2 separate regions of the Homo sapiens genome follow, and region 1 is linked to region 2. The links are contacts of gene promoters, found by promoter capture Hi-C in blood cells and fetal thymus (Javierre and others, 2016). All regions are on one chromosome and are shown on one strand. The core of a region is centred on a gene start or on the middle of the fragment in contact, and the rest is flanking DNA. Distances in the headings are between cores, read along the strand shown. Region 1 overlaps CUBN (cubilin). Region 2 holds the start of CUBN (cubilin).

Region 1 (4,627 bases), core at 213-2,712, 270 kb before region 2:
GCATCAGAAAGTCATATATATTTACCATACTGATATTTTGAAATTGCATTTTTTAATGTATAAGCCATCTTAACCTTGATATGTTTAGCATCACCAATCCATCATTTCCTCATTACTACACATTTTGGGGCCACCTAGACAGCTCTCATCCATCAGCACCTGCCTCATCAATCAGGTGTGTCAGTCACTCTCTGATGACACACCCTGCGTCCAAGAACAAACGTCACTCTTTCTTCCCTGAATTGGAAATATCTCTCTCACACAAAAGAGCCATTTCTTCAGAGAAAATACATGTTTTGGCTAAAGAAATATTGGAAATATAACCCCATAATAAGGAGTGAGATCCAGGTCTAAATCTACTTAATTAAAAATCGGTAACCGAATCCTGAATTATTACCTTCCAATGACTAAACCTCAGAGTGAAGCTTAAGCCAAGATCAATCTGATAAGGGAAAAAATAGTTACATTCTCTTGGATAAAACATCTCGAAGGCTTCAGTGGAGTTAGATACATTTTTAAATCATTATTTGGAGAATTGACATTTTTGTGGCTCACATTCTATACGGCTGACATTTTCCTGAGGTTGTCTGGATAGTATCTCTGCCTGTCTCTGGTTGACCACTACTGAGAAGGTGCACAGTGTGCTGTACGAGCAGATACAGACTGGCTTGACTTCAGGCCCTCTCCTGTTTCCAGCAAGCCATCTGTGGCTTTAGGCTGCAGCTGAAGGAAGCTTTACTGGAAACTACAGGAAGCAGAATACAAAGACATTTAAAGCTGGTGCCTTAGGGAAATTCGAGCACACCTAGACAGCTTCCTTTCTACCACCCAGGGATGCAGGGCTAGAAATGCATTATCCTTTTTTGGAATCAGCCTTACTGTAATTTATAAAGCTGCAGATACACAATTGCTCCAAAGCAGTGTATTCATGTAAAAACATTCTACTAGGTTTCAGACGAACCTGTTTTGTCTTTTTCTCTAAAAGTAAACAGTGTTTATTATTTTACTCCCTAATCTCCAATGTGTACAATACTTCAGGTATAATATTTATGTTTTACAAGAAAAAAGTTAGTAGTTTTTGTAATGAGGTTTTTTATTGTTTTGTTTGTTTTTAGTTGCTTCACTTAATTTGACTCACTTTAGTTATCCTAATTTGAAACCCAGCTTAATCTAAATTAAAATGTGTATTTAGTCTGGTAATATTTAGGAATCATAAAACTAAAAGAATGGTAATTTACTAAAAGAAAGGTAATTTCAGCAAGCTAATCAGTAGCTGTAGTTAATAGAAAAAGAGCAATACTTGTATAAAGAACTTAGGAGAAGGAAAATTTTATCGTTATCTTTTAATTTATCTTGCATTATTTAGATATCACTGAAAATGCTCTATGCATACATCATTAGCCCCAGGGCATTTTATGAGAATCATTCTTTCCAACTTGGAAATTAAAAAAATAATTTACTAAGCAAAATGACATGATCATGTCAGTTGATGCTGAAAAAGGATTTGACAAAATCCAACACACATTCATGATAAAAACTCTTGGCAAACTAGGAATAGAGGAGAAATTTCTTGACTTGATAAAAACCATCTGCAAAAACCTACAGCTAACAGCATAATTAATGGTGAAATACTAAACGCTTTCTCCCTAAGATCAGGAACAAGGCAACGATATTGATTTCACACCCCTCTAACTCAGCGTAGTATTAGAATTCTTGCCAGAATAAAGCAAGAAAAAATATATAGAGAGACTGGAAAGGAAGAAATAAAATTTCCACTTTTGCAAGTAACTATTAGCTGCAGAAAATCCCAAGTAATATGGAAAAACATTCTTAGAACTAACATATGAGTTCAGCAAGAACTCAGGATAAAGGAACAATACACAAAAATCAATCAAATTTTAATATACTAACCATTAACATGTGGAGACCAAAATTAAAAAACAATACCATTTATAATCATTACAAAAAAATGAAATATTTAGGTATATACTTAATGAAGCAGATACAGGCTTATGTGATGAAAATTACAAAATAATGAAATAAATAAAAGAAGGCCTAAATAAGTCTAGATACATATATGTTCATGGATTGGAAAACTCAACATAGTAAAGACATCAGTTTTCCCCAAATTGATGGATAGATTTAATGCAATTCCTATAAAAATCTCAGCAAGGTTTTTCTGCAAACATCAAAAAGCTTAACTTATTTTTATTTTTATTTATTTACGTTTTTTTAGGATAGAGGCTTGCTCTGTCACCCAGACTGGAGTGCAGTGGTGTGATCACAGCTCACTGCAACTTTGAACTCCTGGGCTCAAGGGATCCTCCTACCTCAGCCTCCCAGTTAGCTAGGACCACAGGCAAATGCCACCATGCCTGGCTAATTTTGTTATTTTTGGTGAAGACAGGGTCTTGCTATTATTGGCCAGGCTGGTCTTGAACTCCTGGCCTCAAGGGATCCTCCCACCTTGGTCTCCCAAAGCTCCGGGATTACAGGCATGAGACACTGCCCCCAGCCTTTATTTTAAAATTTATATGGAAAGGCACAGGCCTTCAAATAGCTAAAACAACTTCACAAAGAAAAATGAAGTGGGATGAATCACTCCACCTGATATTAAGGCTTACCATGTAGCTATAGTAATCAAGACAGTGTGATATTGGTGAGGAGTTAGACACATAATCAATGGAATAGAATACAGAACCCAGAAATAGACCTATACAAATATGTCCAACTGATTTTTTTCAAATGTGCCAATGCAATTCAATGAAGGAAGGACAGCCTTTTCAACCAATGGTGCTAGAGCAATTGGACATCCAGAGGCAAAAAACTGACTTCCACCTAAATCTCATATCTAAACCAAAATGAGCTCAAAATGGATCATAGACACAAATGAAAAATGTAAAATCATAAAACTTTTAAAAGAAAACACCAGAATAATCTCTGGGACCTTGGGGTAGGCAAAGAATTCTTAGACTTGGTATCAAAAACATGATCTATAAAAGAAAAAGTCGATAAATTGAACTTCAACATTAAAAACTTTTGTTCAGTGAAAGGCCAATATAAGGCAAGAAAATTAAAAGGCAAGATATAGACTGGGAAATAACATTTGCAAACCACATACTGACAAAGGATCATTGATTGAGAATAGATAAAAAGCTCTCAAAACCCAACAATAGAAAAATAAACAATTCAATTAGAAAATGGGTAAAAGATATAAATAGATATTTCACCAGAGAATAGATATATAGATGACGAAAAGCACGTGAAAATTGTTCACCATTAAATTAAAATCACATGAGATATTAATACACACCTACCAGAATGGCTAAAATAAAATTAAATAACAACAACAGCAACAATAACAGTACTCTACAATGAGATGACCAGGGGAGGGATGGGGGTCCCCAGTTATAGAAAGCAATGGCTTCCTAATCAAAATAATACAAGCCAGAGCATGATGGAATAGCATCGTAAAGTCCTGAATGAAAATAAATGCCAAATTAGAACTCTATACTCAGAGCAAGAATCCCACAGAATTTAAGAAAATCAAGTCATTTTCGAAAAACAAAAACAAAGAACACTTTTTACCAGAAGATCTCCAATGAAAGAAACATAAAAGAGAGGTCTTCCAAAAGAAATACATTAATCCCATATGGAAGCATAGAATTTCAGGAAGAAAAGAAAAATAACAGCAAGGGTAATTTTACATTATTAGTAATTGTATAAAACAATAAAAATGTTTTGTGTACCTATTATGTACGTAGAATTAAAATACTTGGCATAGATAGCACAAAAGACAGGAAGTGGGTAAGTGGGTTTAAAATGTTCCAAGGTCCTTGGATTGATTATTGATTATAACATGATAAAAGTATCAACTTTAAATTAGATTCTAACATATTAAGGTTGAATACTGTAATCTCTAAGGTAACTACTGAAACAAGAGTCACAGGATGTATAAATAATAATTTTAAAAGGGGAGTAATAAAAAAGTGATTAATTTTAAAAAGAAAAGATAGTTAAAGGAAAACAAAAAGAAGTGGGACAAACAAAACACAAATAGTACAAAGGTCTATCTAAAACTAATATTGTTAGTAATTTTATCAGATATAAACACATTAAATTCTTCAATAGAAAGGCATAGCCAAACAAAAGCCAAATATATTCTTCAGGATAGAGACAAGTTGAAAATAAAAGGGTTTAAAAACATATCACGCAAATATGAATCAAAAGAAAGCTATGGAAGTTATACTAAATCAGAACAAGTAGAAATTAAGGCAAAAAGCATTTAAAAACGTTGTTACATAATGGTATCAGTCAATCCACTAGAAAGATATAATAATTATAAATGTACATGTGCCACATTATATGGCTTCAAAATAAAAAAGAGCAAAACTCCAGCCAAGATGTTTCTACTGAGCTTCTAACTCTCTTATCTGACTACCTACTGATCACTAGCTGGATATCCTAAAGGCATCAAATTCTCCAGACAAAACCCAACATTTTTATTATTTTATTCTGCAAAGCACTGTCCTCTCCTAGTAATTTTCTATTTGAATAGTGGTGTCACAAGACATTGTCCAGAAACCTTAGGAGCATTATTATTTCTTCTTCCCAAGCTGCTTCTCTC
Region 2 (4,613 bases), core at 1,943-4,442:
TGGGATGAGAATTAAATTATGGGAAAAAGCAAGTTTTTAATATTAATCATCCATTCACCTTCAAAATAAGAATAGCAGCTCTATTAATGATTCTAGTATGTTTTCTGTGAAAGATTTGGGTATGTAGTAGCATGAGACCTACCTGCTGCAAGCCTTGGAATTTTCTCTCAAGATCCACCAGCTGGCAATAGGGAAGAAAAAGCTTCAGTTAGCTGGTTCAAAGGCATTGCACATGTGATGTTATATCCTTGACATATTGTCCTAATGCCCTCTGCTAGGGACACACTTTGTTCATTCCTCCTTTTATTCCCTTTTTCCTCTTCATTCCTCTCCCCTCAGGATTTTCTTCCTTCCTATTCCCTCCTATCACATAGATTTCTGGGGTTTTTTTAAGTTTTTTTTTAAAGTACAACCCACTGATAAGTTGACCGATTGCTTCTCTGTAGGCAGTGACTATGGAAATGTTCATAAATGTCAGTGATGCATCCACTTCCCCAATAAGAAGATTGCTCTCAGAACTTCAGCAAGGCTTCTTTTCTTTCTTTCTTCCTTTCTTTCTTTCTCTCTCTCTCTTTCTTTCACTCTGTCTTTCTTTCTCTCTCTCTCTCTGTCTCTCTCTCTCTTTCTGTCTCTCTCTCTCTCTTTCTTTTTTTTTTTTTTTTTTTCTGGCAAGGTCCCACTCTGTTGCCTGGGCTGGAGCACAGTGGCATGATCATAGCTCACTGCAGTCTCAACCTCCCTGGCTCAAGCCATCCTCCCACTTCAGCCTCCCAAGTAGCTGTGAGTACAGGCTCATGCCACCATGCCCAGCTATTTTTTTTTTTTTTTTTTTTTTTGGTAGAGACGGAGTCTCACTATGTGGCCCAGGCTGGTCTCAAACTCCTAGGCTCAAGCGACCCTCCCTCTGTGGCCTCCCAAACTGCTGGGATTACAGGCAGTTTTTTATATTAATCATCCATTCACTTGCAGTGAGCCACTGCTCCCAGCCCAAGGCCTACTTCTGCAACAAGTGCTTGCACAGCATTTCCTGCCTTCTGTCCATCACTTCTACAGCCTCCATTACAGCTGTGTCATTTAACCAAACAGTGAGTAGTTACATGCTAAATCTCTAAAGAGCACACAAAGTTGGTATATCCCCTACAAAACGGTTACTTATACAATAGAACTAGGGAGAACTCATCGGTTCTTATGACGTAGATGTCAGACTTACCTTGGAATTAAGCTGATAGATTTGACTAGATATATTTTGAGGCAGACCAATTGCACTCCCTTTTAACTCTATAATATCTTCTTTGTTTTTCTGGATCTAATTTTAGAAAAAGAAGAAGAAATGAAGAGCACTAGTGAAAATATCATATTTATCTTTACAGTAACATAATTAAAAACTTGAGTAGTATTCTACTTTAAGCACTAAGATCTTGCCTATTATTATAAAAACCAAAACAACACCATGCGTAATAAACACTGGGCTAAAATAGCCACAGCATAATTCCACTTATCCTTTTCAGTAACAATAGATCAAGGTATTTTCCATTTGTATGTTTTCCTATAATACCAGTTTAGGGTGCTTATTAAGAAACCTGGCTTGGAAGCAGACTGTTTAGGTTTTAAGTCCTGGCTCAGCTATTTATTGCTGTCCTGGGCAAGTTACCTAACTGCTTCAGGGTTTCTTTACCTCTTGTAAAACTAGGGTGACAATAAAGGCCACCTCATAGGACAGCTGTGAAGGTCAAATGAGATAACATCCATACGGTGCTAAGCACAGTGGATGGCCCACAGTAAGCTCTGAATAATGCTGACTTCTAACATTATGACTGAAATATGCAGTGATTATTGGGAAATGAAAACACCCAGTAAGGCAGGAGAATAACTGGCCAATTCTGTTCTGTGGCAAAAGCAAACTGGTCACATGTCCACATATCCTTGGTCCCCTACTTCCTCGCATCCCCTGTGGAGGAGTTTCAGTTCCACCCTCCGTGCCTTCTCTGGACTAGGGTGCATTGTCTGGCACAATGAGCTTCTATCTTTTAGCATACTCCCTCTACCCACTATTAACCCCAGGCCATCGTCCTTTACAAGAACATGTCTGATGCCCAATTATGTTCTCTATGCTAAAGATTCAAGGTACACTAGGAAGGGGGAGGGAGGCTGAAGACAGGTTGATTAATGAATACAATATATAGTTAGATAGAAGAAATAAGACCTAGTGTTTGATAGACCAGTAGGGTGACTATAGTTAACATTAATCTATTGTACATTTCAAAATAACTAGAAGAGAACAATTCATATGTTCTTAGCATGAAGAAAAGGTAAATATTTAAGGTGATGGATATCCCAATTACCCTGATTTGAACTTTACACATTATAGGAATGTATCAAATTATGTATTAATAAAAAATAATAATTAAAAAAGATTCAAGGTACAGATTAATCTAGACTTGTTCAATTAAGTCACCGTATATGGATATACAAAATGACTTCAATATATTTCCAGTGTATTACCTGATGTAAACACTCACTGAGATCTTCATCATTTAATTTAATTTTTCCCAGGGATCCGGTTCTAAACTCAATGTTTTGAGCAGACCCCGTAAGAAACACCAAATTTCCTCTCTCTGTAGCCATTCGAGGCCTATATAATTCAAACGAGAGAATGCATCAGTAATTAGCAAGTACAATTTTTAAACCAAAATAACAAAGTTTCTTACTGAATAACTACAGGCCAAATACATCTTCACTTTTTGATCATCTCAACCCAACTGCCCCTGCTCATCTGCCACTTTTTTCTCTGCACATTTCTCAGAGATACCTCCTGGCAATTGCAAACAGATTATTTGCAAAATGACAGATAATAATTTGTGCATAGGAAAGTAATTTCATACCTCAGTCTAAATGTTTTTCCCTGTTTGCTTCTCAACATAATTTTCCTCAAGAAAAATTGCACCTTTGTTTATCTGGCTATTTGGGAAAACTGGTGAGGAATTAGCCTAGTCCCTGAGCAGGAATGACCCATGTGTTTACTTACTGTTGGAGATTGATGCTTCTTTTTTGTCTCTGCAGCTCAAGTTCTCCAGCTTCGCCATTTACTTCAGCAAATATTAATAAGGTAAGCAAACTCCAAAGAAAAGGTAAAGACATGTTCATCATCAACCTCCCAGGTTGGCAGGTAAGAGTGAGGCCACTCCAACCAACTGAGCATGGGATTTTGGAGAACAGCAAACCAGGCAGGTGTACTTTGAACCATGGAATATCCTGTAACTGTTGAGTTTTTTCTTCTTTGCCCTAGAAGGCTATGTTATTTTTTCTTCCAGAGGGATGTAAATGATCTTAGATCTTCAGTACTCTTCAACTTGTGAGAGGTCAAAATCTACCTTAAGTGATGCGCAACTTAATCATTATCTATTTGACCTTTGAAACAGTAACAAGCAGCTTTGAAAACATCCACTTAAACAATCTTTGCTTAAGAAGTAACTAGGTTTCAACAAAAGTAAACTGGTCATTATCTACACCTTTCTCTGTTCCCCTCCTTCCTCACCTCCCTTGCAGAGGAGTTCCACCTTTACCCAGCGCTAGGAAAACTAGATATCCACATGCAAAAGAAGTTGGAGGCTTACCTCATACCATATGCAAAAATTAACTCAAAAAAGTTCAAAGATCTAAATCTAAGAGCTAAAACTATAAAATTAACTCACAATGGTTCAAAAAATCTGAAACTATAACATAAAACTCAGAAGAATAGGACAAAAATTCATGACCTTGGATTTTGGATTTGGCAATGATTTCTTGAGTATGATACCAAAAGCATGGGCAAAAAAAGAAAAACACACAGACAACCAAAAGATATAAATTGGAATACATCAAAATTAAAAACGTTTGTGCATCAAAAAATACATCAACAGAGTGAAAAAGCAACTCCCAGAATGGAAGAAAATATTTGCAAATCATATATATATGAAAATGGGTTAATATCCAGAATGTACAAAGAATTTGTACTTTTTACTTTTTATCATCCCTGTGGGACCTATGGACGGCTGTGGAATCCATTCCCACTTTCCACACTGCGCTATACACCCTTCCAGCTGGATATATGGTTTGAGGACATGGAGCACTGATGTCCCCACTCACTCTGTGCTGGGACTACAGAAACCACTGAGAGTGATGAAAATATTCTACATTTCGATTGTAAAATCAACTATTGATGCACTCAGACTTTCCATGAGCACACAGACAAAACTGAATTTGAGGGAGAGCTGTAAAAATTTCACTTCTAAGAAAAATCTCTAGGTAATTACCATTGCATTGGTTAATACCCATGCAGGCTCTTTCAGGACAAGCCTGTTTGTGTTTTACTTATTTTGTGTCTTACTTATGTAGGCTCTTTGAGGAGAGGATCATTATGTACCATAGCTTATAATTCTTTACTTATGCCGGGCGCGGTGGCTCACGCCTGTAATCCCAGCACTTTGGGAGGCCGAGGCGGGCGGATCACGAGGTCAGGAGATCGAGAACATCCTGGCTAACGTGGTGAAACCCCGTCTCTACTACAAATACAAAAAATTAGCCGGGCTTAGTGGCGGGCGCCTGTAGTCCCAGCTACTCGGGAGGCTGAGGCA

The links. Contacts are between HindIII fragments. The CHiCAGO score rates a contact against its expected background, and 5 or more counts as called.
Region 1: a contact is called between a fragment that was not itself captured here and the fragment with the promoter of CUBN in region 2, in 12 of 17 cell types (activated CD4 T cells, total CD8 T cells, M1 macrophages and 9 more). The highest score is 12.2, in activated CD4 T cells.

What each region holds. Positions count from the first base shown.
Region 1 is chr10:16,856,105-16,860,731 of GRCh38, forward strand. The region is part of intron 59 of CUBN (cubilin); the gene reads right to left. Among named protein-coding and RNA genes, the nearest start is that of RSU1, 41 kb to the left of the region's middle. RefSeq lists a silencer at 142-342. The HindIII fragment of the contact is 1,463 bases long and covers 732-2,194 here.
Region 2 is chr10:17,126,619-17,131,231 of GRCh38, forward strand. It overlaps CUBN (cubilin), which reads right to left and starts at 3,193. Exons shown (of 67, transcript NM_001081.4): 1 at 3,026-3,193; 2 at 2,503-2,632; 3 at 1,211-1,306; 4 at 143-181. The coding sequence starts at 3,147. The HindIII fragment of the contact is 5,551 bases long and covers 201-4,613 here.